3 separate regions of the Homo sapiens genome follow, and regions 1 and 3 are each linked to region 2. Evidence: promoter capture Hi-C in human tissues and cell types (Jung and others, 2019). All regions are on one chromosome and are shown on one strand. Each heading gives the region's core, a stretch centred on a gene start or on the middle of the fragment in contact. The rest is flanking DNA. Distances are from core to core; before and after follow the strand shown. Region 1 overlaps MOV10L1 (Mov10 like RNA helicase 1). Region 2 holds the start of MIOX (myo-inositol oxygenase). Region 3 holds the start of TTLL8 (tubulin tyrosine ligase like 8).

What was found. Contacts are between HindIII fragments. The study calls those that stand out against the background at their distance.
Region 1: a fragment that was not itself captured here is called in contact with the fragment with the promoter of MIOX in region 2 in 2 of the 25 tissues and cell types used here (lymphoblastoid cells and spleen).
Region 3: the fragment with the promoter of TTLL8 here is called in contact with the fragment with the promoter of MIOX in region 2 in 2 of the 25 tissues and cell types used here (lymphoblastoid cells and mesendoderm cells).

The regions. Positions count from the first base shown.
Region 1 is chr22:50,095,553-50,100,366 of GRCh38, forward strand. It overlaps MOV10L1 (Mov10 like RNA helicase 1), which reads left to right. Exons shown (of 27, transcript NM_018995.3): 3 at 3,891-4,050. Among named protein-coding and RNA genes, the nearest start is that of MOV10L1, 8.0 kb to the left of the region's middle. The HindIII fragment of the contact is 9,728 bases long and covers 1-4,814 here.
Region 2 is chr22:50,485,498-50,490,350 of GRCh38, forward strand. MIOX (myo-inositol oxygenase) reads left to right here and starts at 1,362. Exons shown (of 10, transcript NM_017584.6): 1 at 1,362-1,415; 2 at 1,888-1,968; 3 at 2,165-2,245; 4 at 2,389-2,551; 5 at 2,778-2,845; 6 at 3,543-3,652; 7 at 3,731-3,798; 8 at 3,900-3,949; 9 at 4,035-4,147; 10 at 4,251-4,853. The coding sequence starts at 1,401. The coding sequence ends at 4,359. It overlaps ADM2 (adrenomedullin 2), which reads left to right. Exons shown (of 3, transcript NM_001253845.2): 3 at 1-940. The HindIII fragment of the contact is 6,574 bases long and covers 372-4,853 here.
Region 3 is chr22:50,054,925-50,059,954 of GRCh38, forward strand. TTLL8 (tubulin tyrosine ligase like 8) reads right to left here and starts at 3,374. Exons shown (of 14, transcript NM_001350317.3): 1 at 3,230-3,374; 2 at 1,945-2,049; 3 at 310-401. The coding sequence starts at 2,011. It overlaps MLC1 (modulator of VRAC current 1), which reads right to left. Exons shown (of 12, transcript NM_015166.4): 12 at 4,467-5,030. The HindIII fragment of the contact is 29,458 bases long and covers 1-5,030 here.

The DNA.
Region 1 (4,814 bases), core at 1,897-4,396, 390 kb before region 2:
CTGAGCTGTGGTCGTGTACTCACACGCGGCCTTCCAAAGCAGGTTCTCATACCAAATTCCCGTTGATTTTAAGATACACCATTAATTTGATAATGAAAATTTAAAATGGAAACGTAGGTTGTGAGACTCATTCTGATCTCAGAAATGTGACAATGTGGAAAAACTGGCCCCTGGGTGTCCAGCAAATCCCAGCCCTCTTGGTGGTCAGCTGCCCTTCACTTGTTCCATCTTGTAAGGAATGCAGGACCTTTTTTGTTATGGTGAAGAGGGTTCATCTCTACTCACAATCTTGCTTTTATAAATTAGTAATGGATTTTTCAAGTACTTTTCAGTATCTTCCAAATGATCCCATAGTTTCTGTCCCTTTGCTATTAATATGGTGGAAAATACAGTTTCTGTGTTGTGAGCCGTTCTCACTTGATGGGAATGATCCCCATTTGGTATAAACCTGAATGTACTTCTGGATTTATTTTTTATTTAGATATTTTTCTTGTGGTAAAATATGCGTAATATACCATTTTAACCATATTGAAATGTACGGTTCAGTGGCATTAAGCACGTTCACATTGTTGCGCAGCCATCACCACAATCTGTCTTCAGCACTTTTTCAGCATCCCAGTAGACACTCTGTACCCATTAAACAGTTATTCAGTGTTCTACTTTATGTCTCTATGAATTTGCCCATTCTAAATACCTCATATAAGCGGAATCATGTGTCTGGCTATTTGACTTCTGTTTTCAAGATTTGCCCATGTAGCATGTATCAAAAGTTAATTCCTTTTTTATGGCTGAATATTCCATTGTGTGAATAAATCACATTTTGTTTCTCCATTCATCTGTTGATGGACACTTGGGTTGTTTCTACTTTTTGGTTGTTGTGAATTGTGCTGCCATGAACAAGTCTGTCTGAGTCCTTGTTCAGTTCTTTTGGGGCTACGCCTAGGAAGAGAATTGCTGGGCTGTATGGTAAGTCTAGGTTTAACTTTGTGAGGAACCAGATGTTTTCCACAGCAGCTGCACCGTTATATGTTCCCACCAACAGTGCATGAGGCTGCCACTTTTTCTGTATCCTTGCCAACACTTGCTATTTTCTTTTTCTTTTTTTTTCTTTTGACAGTAGCTATTCCTCGTAGTTGTGAGGTAGTATCTCACTGTGGTTTTGATTTGCATTTCCCTAATGATTTGTGAGGGCATCTTTTCATGTGCTTATTGGCCATCTATATATCTTCTTTGGAGAAATATCTACTCAAATCCTTTGCCCGTTTTGAAATTAGGTTGTTTTCTTGTAGTAGGAATTCTTTATATATTCTGGATATTAATCTCTCATCACATACATGATTTGCAAATACTTTCTCTCATTTTATCAATTGTCTTTTCACTTTCTTCATGGTATCCTTTGATGCACAGATGTTTTAAATTTTGGTGGAAGTCTAATTTGTCTCTTTTATTGCATGTACTTCTGATGTCACACTCAAGATACCATTGACTAATCCAAGATTATGAAGATTTTTTTCTACCAAGAGTTTTATAGTTTTTGCTTTTAAATTAAAGTCTTTGATTCATTAAAAAAAATTTTTTGAGACAGGATCTCACTTTGTTGCCCAGGCTGGAGTGCAGCAGCACAGTCACAGCTCACTGCAGCCTCAACCTCCCAGGCTGAAGTGATCCTTCCACCTTAGCCACCTGAGCAGCTGGGACTACAGGTGTGTGCTGCCTCACCCAATTTTTGTATTTTTTGTAGAGATGGGGCCTCTCTATGTTGCCCAGGCTGGTCTCGAACTCCTGGGCTCAAGTGATCCGCCCATCCCACGCCTTTCCAAATGCTGAGATTATAGGGGTAAGCCACCACGCCTGGCCTCTTTAATCCATTTTGAGTTAATTTTTGTGTTTGGTGTAAAACGAGAGTCTAACTTTATTATTTTGCCCATGGTTATTTTCCCAGCACTATTTTTTTTTGAGACTGCACAATTGCAGTTTATTGAATGGTCCTTGTCAAAAATCAATTGACTGCACATGCAAGGGTTTATTTCTGGGTCTCTTTACTATTCCATTGGTTTATATTTCTGTCCTTACACTGGTGCCACACTAGTTTGATGACTGTAACTTTGTAGGAAGTTTTGAAATCAGGAGGTATGAAACCTTCAATTTTGTTACTCCTTTTCAAGACCATTTTGCCTATTCATGGTCCCTTGAGATTCCATTAGAATTTTAGATGAGTTTTTCTATTTATATAAAAATAGACCCATAGGACTTTGATAGGGATTGCGTTGCATTTGTTGGGTTTTTTTGTTGTTTGTTTGAGACAGAGTCTTGCTCTGTCACCCAGGATGGAGTGCAATGATGTGATATTGACTCATTGCAACCTCCGCCTCCCTGGTTCAAGCAATTCTCATGCCTCAGCCTCCCAAGTAGCTGGGACTGCAGGTGCTTGCCACTACACCCAGCTAATTTTTTTTGTATTTTTAGTAGAGATGGGGTTTCACCATGTTGACCAGGCTGGTCTTGAACTCCTGACCTCAAGTGATCCACCTGCCTCAACCTCCCAAAGTGCTGGAATTACAGGCATGAGCTACCACACCCAACCTGAATTTGTGTAATAGATCACTTTGGGTAGTATTGTCATCTTAATAATTAAGTCTAAGATTGTCATCTTAATAATAATTAAGTATTAAGATTAACATCTTAATAATAATTATTAAGATTAACATCTTAATAATCACATAATCACTTTGAGTAGTATTATCATCTTAATAATTAAGTCTTAAGATTGTCATTTTAATAATATTAGGTTTTCCAATTCATGAACGCGGTTGTCTTGCTGTTTATTGAGGTATTTAATTCATTCATTAGTGTCATTTTACGTGTCTTCCATCTCCTTAGTTAGGTTACTAAGTGTTCTGAGGAATTAACCTATTAACCTAACAGTGCTGTTATAAATGGAATTGTTTTCCCTTTCTTTGGATCATTTTTCTTGATTTCCTTTTTGGATTTTTCATTGCAAATGTATGGAAATCTGATTTTTGTATGTTGACTTTGTGTCCTGTGCTGGATTCATTTATTAGCTCTAACCATTTTTTGTTTCATTTACGTGTGTGGAATCTTTAGAGTTTTCCACAGATGAGATCCTACCATCTGTGAATAAAGATAATTGAAATTTGAAAGTCTTGAAGTAAGCATGGGCATCCTTGCCTGGTTCCTGATCTTAGGGGAAAGCTTTCGGCCTTTCACCATTGAGTGTGGTGTTTGTTGTGAGATTTTTGTTTATGGCCTTTCTCGTGTTGAAGAGATTTCCTGCGATTCCTAGTTTATTGAGTGTTTGCATCATAAAAAGTGTTGATTTTGTCAAATGCTTTTTGTGCATCAGTTGAGATCATCGTGATTTTTTCCCTCATCTTATCAATGTAATATGTTGACTGATTTTCATATGTTGAAACACTTTTGCATTCTGGGATAAACCCCACTTAGTCATGGGGTATAATCCTTTTAATATGCTGCTGCATTTGGTTTGATAATATTTCATTGAGGATTTTTGCATCAGTGTTCATAAGGGATTGCTATAGACTCAATGTTGGTGTCCCCCAAAATACGTATGTTGAAATCCTGACCCCAGTGGAATCTTATTAGGAGGCTTTGGTGGGTGACTGGGTCACAAGGGCAGAGCCCTTATGAAACATACCCCAGAGAACCCCTTTGCCCTTTCTGCCATGTGAGGACACAGCAGGAAGACACCGACGGTATACCAGGAAGAAGGCCCTCACCAGACCCGGAATCTGCCAGGGCCTTGATCTTGGACTTGCAGCCCTAATGGTCTCAGACAGGCATGCCAGCCTGTAGTTTGCTTTTCTTGTAGTTCTCGTATTATGGTTTAGAGCGGTGTGTTTGTTTTACAGGTAGAAGCTGTCTCTGATAAGTGGGAAGACGACAGCAGAAACCATGGGAGTCCCTCAGACTGCGGCCCCCGAGTGTTGATTGGCTGTGTGACTTCCCTGGTGGAGGGCGCAGGCTGTATCAGTCAGACCACCTACTTCTCTCTGGAGAGTGTGTGCGAAGGTATGCTCAGGGGTCTGTGTTCCACATTGAAAATTAGGTTTTGTCTTTTAAAGAATTGTTATGGACCAGGCACGGTGGCTCATGCCTATAATCCCAGCACTTTGTCAGGCTGAGACAGGAGGATCGCTTGAGCCCAGGAGTTGGAGGCTGCAGTGAGCTATGATCCAGCCACTACACTCCAGCCTGGGTGACAGAACACAACCCTGTGTCTATATTTGTGATGGCTACACACAACATTGAAGGGATCAGTTTTGGGCATGCTTTGTTTGTTGAGAGGGTTTCGGGATTAGAGTAGCTTCTCCAGGTGCTGGCTTCACACAGAGGCTCTTGGATATTGAGTGGACTATGGGAGAGGGCACCAGGTCACTGTTTTGTTTTTTTTGTTTTTGTTTTTGTTTTTGTTTTTCGAGATGGAGTCTCACTCTGTTGCCCAGGCTGGAGTGCAGTGGTATGATCTCAGCTCACTGCAACCTCTGCTTCCTGGGTTTGATTGATTCTCCTGCCTCAGCCTCCTGAGTAGCTGGGATTACAGGTGTGCACCACCATGCCCAGCTAATTTTTTGTATTTTTAGTAAAGATGGGGTTTCATCAGGTTGGCCGGGCTGGTCTCGAACTCTTGACCTTAGGTGATCCACCTGCCTCGGCCTCCTAAAGTGCTGGGATTACAGGCATGAGCCACCACACCCAGCCAGGTCACTGTTTAAACTTGTGCTTTTATGTGTTTTGTGTTCATTTGTTAAATGCAGTCAGTAATTTCTGGGTAG
Region 2 (4,853 bases), core at 112-2,611:
CCCTCTGGCCAGTGCATGCTGAGCACGTGACCTACCCGTGTTGGGACACGTGAGGATACAGCCTTGACCCCCAGGGGCTGACATTCTAGGGGGAGATAGAAGGAGACAAACGTAGAAGGTAGAATAAGTGGGTGGTGGAGTGGCAGGGAGTGCTGAGTGCCACAGGAAGTCAGACAAGGAAGGAGAGTGTGGGGCAGGTGCCGTTTAAATGGGGGGCGCTGGGGTCTCCTCACAGTTGCTTCTCAGCTCAGCTGTGCCAGGATCTTGTTGAGTCAGGTCAGCTGCCCACAGCCCTCTTGCCTGACCCCTGAAGCCCAGAACTCTGATCTTCACAGCCCTAGGTATGGCCCCAGCACCCCACTGCCCTCTCTCCTGCCCCAGCCGACTGCTGTTCCCAGACTTCCCTGGCCACGCTCCAAGACGCCAGCTCTGCCGCGGGCACTTTGTTCTCACGGTGTCCTCCATGCCTGCAGGGCCCATGCATGGGAAGTTGCGTTGGCGGCCTGGGTGTTGGCGGTTCCGTGCCTGCTCCAACTCTCCGTGAGGCCCCTCTCCCAGAGCCTGACACACTCTGTGGCCGAACTCTAGGCAGGTGCCCCTGAGTCCTTTCCTCGACGAGGCCTGACCCCATCCCCATCCTCGCTGGGCCCGCCGACCCCGGTGTTAGCAAGAATCCTCTAAATCAGTTTATGGAGAATTACCCACCCTCGATATCTGATCCCATTCCTCATCTCCCACCCTTGATCTCATCACCCTGCCGGCCTCCTGCAAGATCCTCATTGAGCCACTCCAGTGAGAATCCCCCTACCCTCGAAGGCCGCCCTAACAACTTCCCATCCGCTGACCCCTCCAACGCCATCAATCTCCAGCTGTGGTTGTTGAACTCGGAGGTGAGCTCCTCTCACCACTCTCTTGAATAAAGCTTTTCTCACCATTTTAACAAGTCCTCAGAATCATCTTTTCTTAACAAGCTCCTGCCCCACCCAGAATCACGGGGGGCCTGGGGACAAGTTTTCACCTCCTGAGATCCAGTGGGGCAGCCGGGGAAGGGGTGGTGCAGAGGGGGCGTGTGCTTGAGGGTGGGGTCTTGGGTCTGCCCCTACTTGTGGGACCCCACAGAGGGGTCTAAGGCCAGGGCCCAAGTGGGAGGCTGGGCCCACAGATAACCCTAGGCAGGTCAGCGGCTCGGGACAGGAGTGTGAGGCTGAGTCAGGGCCAGAGGATGTGGGACTGCTGGGGGCTGCTGCTGTGCTGACACATTAACTCCCTGAGGCCGGGAGGAGGGTGGATGGTCATTTATTACTGCGGACACTTATGTAACCTGGGGTGTATATAGGAGCCTGGCTGAGGACACACTCGCCAGCCTGTGCTTTGCCACCTGAGCGCCGCTCCCTCTCAGGATGAAGGTGACGGTGGTGAGTACCCAGACCCCATGCAGAGAGGCTCTGCTGACTGCTCTCCTGGTGGCCAGCCACTCCCGCCCTCTTCTAGCTGGCACTGGCCAGCCCTCCTCCTCCGTCCAGCTGGGCAAGAGCCAGCGGCTGCCGACCCCCAGGCTCCCTGTGGACTCAGTCTCCTCCCAAAGCCACTTCCACCCCTCAAGGGTGGCCATGGGTGCCGCTCAGGCGTGGTGTCCCCTGTACCCCGGAAGCAGACGTCTGCTGACTTTCGCTTTGCAGATGAGGACCTGGGAGTGAGAGCTCCTGGGACTCGCTGAGGCCAGGGCAGGGGCTGGGATGATGGCGTGGGAGAGGCTGTGTCCTCGCGTGTCACCCACCAGCCCTCGAGCAGAGGCAGGCTTGGAGTCTGCAGCCACCCTGGGAATGTCTGTGCTTCCTCGTGGAGCTGACATGATGGTGAAATAGGTTCAATCCTCCACCTACCCAGGGCCCAGACCCTTCCCTGGTCTACCGACCTGATGTGGACCCAGAGGTGGCCAAAGACAAGGCCAGCTTCCGGAACTACACGGTGAGTACCTTGCCGTCCTGCCCCCCTTCTCCCCCATCCACACCCTGGGGAGCAGCACTTGCCCTTCACACAGTTCCAGGGGGTGCCCTGTGGGAACTCCCACCCCCATCACACCCTGTGGGGCTGCCTGGGAGAGGGGAGGCATGGGGCCTCGTGTGCAGGGTGGGGGTGGCGCCACTGACCCTCCGGCCTGCAGTCAGGTCCCCTCCTGGACCGTGTCTTCACCACCTACAAGCTCATGCACACGCACCAGACAGTGGACTTCGTCAGGAGCAAGGTAGGCGTTTCCTGCCGCCCCGTGCAAACGCGGAGGGACCCTTGCCCTCAGCCCCATGAGCCCACCAGGCGCCGAGGGGATGGAGAGGCCTGTGTGGTGGGCCTGCTGACCCTGGGCCACACTGCCTTCTCCTTCCCCGCCAGCATGCCCAGTTTGGGGGCTTCTCCTACAAGAAAATGACAGTCATGGAGGCCGTGGACCTGCTGGATGGGCTGGTGGATGAGTCGGACCCGGACGTAGATTTCCCCAACTCCTTCCATGCCTTCCAGACAGCGGAGGGCATCCGGAAGGCCCACCCAGACAAGGGTGAGCCCTGGCTGTGCTGCAGGGGGGCAGGTGCTGCCTCCAAGGGGCAGAATGCAGCAGCCTGTAGGGTGGGAGGGGACAGTAGTGGGCCCAGGCCTCCTCCAGCAGCCCTGCCTGGGTTGGGGAGCAGGCCCTGGACCCTTCCTGGCTCTCAGCCCCGCAAACCTGCTCATCCTCTGCCTTGGCCCCTGCAGTCCCCAACCTGCCCTGTCCATCCCCCTCCCAGACTGGTTCCACCTCGTCGGGCTCCTGCACGACCTGGGGAAGGTCCTGGCCCTGTTCGGGGAGCCCCAGGTAAGAGTTGGAAGTGGAGGGTGAGGAGGCTGCATGTTGAGGCAAGGTGGGGGTGGAGTGGCCTTGGTGCTTGGCCTGGGATACTACCTGGGGGACAGGCCAGTGCACCCCCCACGGCCCCCCGACGGCTGCCTGTCCCTCTGGTGGCCTCGGTGCTTGGCCTGGGATACTACCTGGGGGACAGGCCAGTGCACCCCCCACGGCCCCCCCCACGGCTGCCTGTCCCTCTGGTGGCCTCGGTGCTTGGCCTGGGATACTACCTGGGGGACAGGCCAGTGCACCCCCCACGGCCTCCCCGCACCACTCCCCCCACGGCCCCCCATGGCCGCCTGTCCCTCCTGTCACTCTGCAGTGGGCGGTCGTCGGCGACACCTTCCCCCACTTCCCCCACGGCCCCCCATGGCTGCCTGTCCCTCCTGTCCCTCCTGTCCCTCCCATCCCTCCCGTCCCTCCTGTCCCTCCCGTCCCTCCCATCCCTCCTGTCCCTCTGCAGTGGGCAGTCATCGGCAACATCTTCCCCCACTCCCCCCATGGCCGCCCGTCCCTCCTGTCCCTCTGCAGTGGGCAGTCATCGGTGACACCTTCCCCCACTCCCCCCATGGCCGCCCGTCCCTCCTGTCCTTCTGCAGTGGGTGGTCATCGGCGACACCTTCCCCCACTCCCCCCATGGCCTCCCGTCCCTCCTGTCCCTCTGCAGTGGGCTGTCGTCGGCGACACCTTCCCCGTCGGATGCCGTCCGCAGGCCTCCGTGGTTTTCTGCGACTCCACCTTCCAGGACAACCCTGACCTCCAGGATCCTCGATACAGGTGCTCCCTGCTGCTGAGGGCTGGGCCCCCTTCCCTGGGCGGCTGCTGAGCCCTCCTCACCCTGGTATCTCACTGCAGCACAGAGCTCGGGATGTATCAGCCCCACTGTGGGCTCGACAGGGTCCTCATGTCCTGGGGCCATGATGGTGAGGCCAGAGGCGGGCAGTGGGGCGGTGGGGGGCGGTGGGGGACGGTGGGGGGCGGTGGGGCAGAGGCAGTGCCTGCTGGTGACACCCTCTCCCCACAGAGTACATGTACCAGGTGATGAAGTTTAACAAGTTCTCACTGCCCCCTGAGGTAGGTGGGGGGAGGGGCAACGCAGCCCGTCCACCAGGCCCGGTCCTGCAGCCCCAAGTGAGCCGCTGGGTGGCCTTGCCCGCAGGCTTTCTACATGATCCGGTTCCACTCCTTCTACCCCTGGCACACGGGCCGCGACTACCAGCAGCTGTGCAGCCAGCAGGACCTGGCCATGCTGCCCTGGGTGCGGGAGTTCAAGTACGCCCCGCTACCCGCCGAGGGGTGTTGTGGGAGTGAAAGAGGGGGTTGGGTGGGGGGCCTGGGGGTTCTTCACGGGGCTCACCGCCCCTCCCTGCTGCAGCAAGTTCGACCTCTACACCAAGTGCCCGGACCTGCCGGACGTGGACAAGCTGCGGCCCTACTACCAGGGGCTCATTGACAAGTACTGCCCTGGCATCCTGAGCTGGTGACCCTCCTGCCACCCAAGCTGCTGCTGGACCTAGGCCTGGCCCTCCGCCTGCCTGGAGAGGCCTGGCCCTGGGCAAACAGCCGCCATCAGGGTTCACCTCGGTGGGGGACCCCACTCACCCCCTTAGGGTCGCCACCCCTCACGGCAACTTGTGCCTGGCGTCAATAAAGACCTGGAAGGATGTTGTGCTTCTGAAGCCCCACTGGGTGTTACTGCAGCAGGGCGTGGCCCAGGCCGAGGGATGGTGCCAGCAGGGTGGAGGCCAAGTCCCAGGCTTTCAGGTGTGTGTGTCCCACCACACTGGCCGTGGTAAACATCTGCCCATCCTCCCAGCTCCTGTGTCAGAGCCTGGGGGACGAGTCACCCAGCTCACCCCCACATGCTCAAAACAGTCACCAAGTCCTCTGGGCTCCGTCCCCTTAAAAAATACCCCAATAGCTAAAATAATACATTCATAGAAAACAACAAAAAACAAATGCAGGCTGGGCACAGCGG
Region 3 (5,030 bases), core at 2,124-4,623, 430 kb before region 2:
TGGCGTGCACCTGTAGTCCCAGCTACTCGGGAGGCTGAGGCACAAGAATTGCTTGAACCCGGGAGGCAGAGGTTGTGGTAAGCTGAGATCGTGCCACTGCACTCCAGCCTGGGCAACAAAGCAAGACTTCATCTCAAAAATAAGTTAAGTAAATAAATGAAAGGTAACATGAGCCAAGTCCCCACAGGGAGGAGGCTGCAGCTCGGGGGCACAGTGCGTCAGAGGCCAGATGGACAGATTCCAAGTTCCAAAACAAATGTCCTTTTAAAAAAGTGTCCCCCTCCCCACCGAGTCCCAAGGAGCATTTACCTTGATTGCTTTTTCTGTTAACTGCCTTGCTATTTTGTATCTGTCTAATCTGGAGGAAGAAGCCAAGTCTTGGGAAATTCCTTGTTTTAATTCTGCAAAAGAGAAGGAGGACATCAAGTCAAAGGACAAGGCATCCAAGGCCAGGCACGGTGGCTCATGCCTGTAATCCCAGCACTGTGGGAGGCCGAGGTGGTTGGATCACCTGAGGCCAGGAGTTCGAGACCAGCCTGGCCAACATGGTGAAACCCTGTCTCTACTAAAAATACTAAAATTAGCCGGGTGATGGTAGCTCATGCCTGTAATCCCAGCTACTCGGAAGGCTGAGGCAGGCGAATCGCTTGAATCCAGGAGGCGGAGGTTGTGGTGAGCCGAGATCGCGCCATTGCACTCCAGCATGGGCAACAAGAGCGAAACTCTGTCTCAAAAAAAAAAAAAAAAAAGACATTCGTCTGATGAGGCTGACATGAAATGGCATATTCTGAGGGGTGCTATCCATGAGCCAGCAAAATTCATCCACAGTGATGGAGACCAGAGCTGTGGGAGAGGGGGTGTGGCCGGAGATTGGTCCAAGGAATGGTGGTAGACGTGTCAGCGGTGTGTGAACCAGAGCGACTCCATCTTGAATAGGGGCTGGTTAAAATGAGGCTGAGACCTACAGGGCTGCATTCCCAGATGGTGAAGGCATTCTAAGTCACAGGATGAGATAGGAGGTCGGCACAAGACACAGGTCATAAAGACCGTGTTGATAAAACAGGTTGCTGTAAAGCTGGCCACGACCCACCAAAACCAAGATGATGATGAGAGTGACCTCCGGTCGTCCTCACTGCTACACTCCCACCAGCGCCGTCTCAAAGAACATAAATAAAATAAAATTAAATTAAGAAGTTCTGATTATCAAAAGGAAGCATGAAGTGACTGACAAGGCCACATCCATCTGACAAAGAGCATGTATCCAGGACATACAGAGAATTCCTGCAAGTCCATGAGGCCATAGCGCGATTTAACCGCGGCCTGCAGTCCCGGAACCGCACTCCGAGAAGGAAGAGCTCCAAATGGCCAATAATCATGTGAAAAACAGTTCAACACCTTGAGCTGTCTGGAAATGCAAATTAAAACCACACACCCGAGTGCCTGAAATGGCAGCGAGGACACCCACTGCGGGTGGGGACGGGGGCGGGGGCACCGGAGCTCTCGATCTGGCCCTTAAACGGTTGGGGGACCTTCTAAAGCTAAGTATGCGCCTGCCATGTAACCCAGTCATTTGACTCCTAGGGAGCATTTACCCACGCAACGAAGACGAGTCTGAAGAGGGCAAGGGCAGGAAGGAAGAGAGAGGCGAGTGCAGGGCCTCCACGACCCGCCAGGAGAGCCCTCCACACCCACACGTTTAATTTCCCAGTTTCCCAGGAAGCTGGCCAGTGGGATCGGGGTACAGGAGGCAGGAGCCAGCGCCCCCCAACACCCCTGGGGTCCTCCGCCTGGACCGTCCAAGAGAAGGCGCCTGGTTCTGCAGCTCAGTGAAGTGCCTGCCCCCAGAGTCCCTGATTTCCTGGCAGCAGGCTGCAGCCAGCACTGCCTCTGAGCCCGGGCCACTCTGGGCGAGTGGCTGGCACACAGGCAATACACGATACCCACTATTTTCTTCTCTCCCGTCTCCATCTGAAGAAGAAGCCAACGATAGCCCCTTCCTCTCTGGTTCCATACTGGCCTCCGACAGCTTGCCCTTTGCTCCTCTGACCCCTAGAGGAGAGGGTGTGGTGGTTACAGGAAACTGGGAGGGTGTGGGGGGCTCTGGGGATGGAGAGGGTTCTGAGGCCCAAGCTGAGGGTCAGGTCTGGGGTTGGGGATCAGCTCTGGGGTTGGGATCAGGTCTGGGTTGGGGGATGAGGTCTGGAGTTGGGAGGTCAGGTCTGAGTTGGGGTCAGGTCTGGGGATGGGAGTCAGGTCTGGGGTTGGGGGTCAGGTCTGGATTAGGGGTCAGCTCTGGGGTTGGGGATCAGGTCTGGGTTGAGGGATCAGTTCTAGGTTGGGGTCAGGTCTGGGCTTGGGGGTCAGGTCTGGGTTTGGGGGTCAGGACTGGGTTTGGTGTCAGGTCTGGGTTGTGAGTCAGGTCTGGGTTGTGAGTCAGGTCTGGGTTGGGGGATCAGGTCTGGGTTGGGGTCAGGTCTGGGTTGGGCGGGAGGTCTGGGTTGGGGGTCAGGTCTGGGTTGGGGGTCAGGTCTGGGTTGGGGGATCAGGTCTGGATTGTGGGTCAGGTCTGGGTTGGGGTCAGGTCTGGGTTGGGGGGTCAGGTCTGGGTTGAGCGGGAGGTCTGGGTTGGGGGTCAGGTCTGGGTTGGGGTCAGGTCTGGGTTGAGGGTCAGGTTTGGGTTGAGCGGGAGGTCTGGGTTGGGGGTCAGGTCTGGGTTGGGGTCAGGTCTGGGTTGGGAGATCAGGTCTGGGTTTTTGGGGTCAGGTCTGGGTCGGGGTCAGGTCTGGGTTGGGGGTCAGGTCTGGGTTGTGGGCATCAGGTCTCAATTGGGGATCAGGTCTAGGTCGAGGGGGAGGTCTGGGTTGGGGGTGCAGGTCTAGGTTAATGAGGAGAGGTATGGGGTTCTGAAGGCAGAGGGGAGTGGACAGCTGTGGAGTTCCCAGAAGATGGGGGAAGGTGGGGAGAACAGCTCTGGGCTTTCGAGGGCGGGCGAGTGGGTAGAGTTGGGCAGGTTTAGTGGGGGAGTTCTGTGGTTCCGAGCTAGGCGGGTCTGGGATTCCTAGGGTAAGGGGTCTAGAATTTGGAGGCCCGGGGCGGGGAGGGGGTAGGCCTGGGTTTCCGGGTGTGGGAGGCGGGTCTGGGGTTCCGAAGGCAGATGGGGAGGAGGGGTCCTGTCCGGGATCGGAAGCGCGGACGGGCCTGGGGTTCCGCGGTCGGGGGTCGTGCTCACCGGGGACCGGGTCAGTGGCTCGCGCTGCGCCGCCCGGCTTCCTGGGGTTGCCTGGGACAACGTGCTGGGGCGGCCACGCGCATTGTGCACCCCCGGTGCGGCGGCTGCTGGGCCCGTGGCCTCGGGCTGTGCAGCGGCGGCGGCCCCGGGGCGTGGGGCTGCGCGGGCGGCGGGGGGCGCGGGGGCGCGGGGAGCTGCGGCGTGCGGGGGGCGCGGGCCCCGACGGGCAGCAGTCATCAGCGCTTGGGCTGGGCCCGGGTTGGGGTCCGGGTCCCGGGCTGCTGTCGGAGCAGGCGCGGCTGCGGGGTCGGCGGCGCGGGACGGTGCGCGCCATGGTGTCCGCCGGGGGAGGGCCCGAGTGTAGCCCCGGGTCACGCGCTGCGGCCCCGCGCCCCCCTGTGGAGGTCACACTCCATCCCCCACCAGGTCACAAAGACCCGCGGGTCACATCCTGCCCCTCCCCCTCGGGCCCCCCAGGCCCGCCAGGCCTTCTCGCCCTCCCCGGGGCCCTCATGCCGCCCTCTGTCCCTGGGCCCTTCCCCGACGCGAGGCTGGAGCGGCGGGGTGAGGAGGCCGCGGGCGCTGGGCTCCTCCCGGGCTGCGCGCTGCGGGTCCTGGCGGATGGGGGCGACGGGGTGACCGTATCAGCGCCCCCCGTCCTGCGGCGGAACTTGGGAGGGCCTTGGTATCCGCAGAACCACTCGTGGGGTCCCACGCCGCTGCCCCCCGGGGGGTTCTGAGCCCACCCAGGTCCACACGGCCCCTGTCGTTTCCCCCCGCACCCCGCGGATCACCCCGCCAGGGCAGCTCGTGTCTGATCTGGCATCTCGGAGTGGGGGTAGGAAAGACACACCTGCCCCACCAGGACCCTCACTCCTGGCAACTTTCCAAAGCCTAGATGTCTTCATTTGGTTTTAAATCAACTTTATTTTGCATTTAACTTCCCAAGACACCCCAAAAGGGAGGTTCTGCCCCGACTCTGAAGGGGCTGGTGGGGGACTTGAAGGGGGGGAGTGGGAGCGTCCCCTGGCGGGGGTGGTTCCCTTCCAGCTCCCTCCCTCTTCCCCGGGGAATGCCACTGGGCTCTCACCAGACCCCAGTACTGGCCTCTAGGGGTTACACAAATCAGTGAGTGAAAAGCTGGCCCTCCCTCCACCCGCCCCTCCTCCCTGTGTCCCGATGTTTTTAGACCTGAGTGAGCTGACGCTGCTGAGACACAATATTAAATAGCCACAGCCACGTCTGCAAGTCAGCGTTTATTGCTCAAGCGTATTAAACAAAAATGTAGACTGAAAGAGACAGTTCTTTTAAACCCCATTTTTCCGGATTTTTTAAGCGCTCTAAAATAAGAAAATAAGAAAGTGCAAGCCAGCAAAAACGCTCCAAGTGCCTAATTCTGACTCTGAAACTTGAGCTCTCTGGTCTGCCCCCAAGAAGACATCAGCCCGCCCCGGGTCGTCCCTGTGGCTCCCACCCCATTCCCAGGAGCAGACCCCGCCAGCCTCAAAGCTGCAGGGAGGTGGGGGTGGCCTGCAGACAGGGTGGGGTCTGCATCCGGTACCAGTGACAGCAGCCTCTCCTCTCCCACGGTGGCGCTTGTTTGGGGCTGTGGCCAAAGTGTTTGCCCGGCCCCTGACTGTGTCCTTCCGGAGCTGCCGAGGACTGCAGAGAGGGCCTGGCTTGTCCCCTCTAGGAGCAGCTGGGAAGGTGTCTTGCCTGCATCCCCCTTCAATGGTTGAAAATAATGATTCCACTTGTCATGAACACCATGAAGGTATCTTGGCAGCCAGAGTCACTCCTG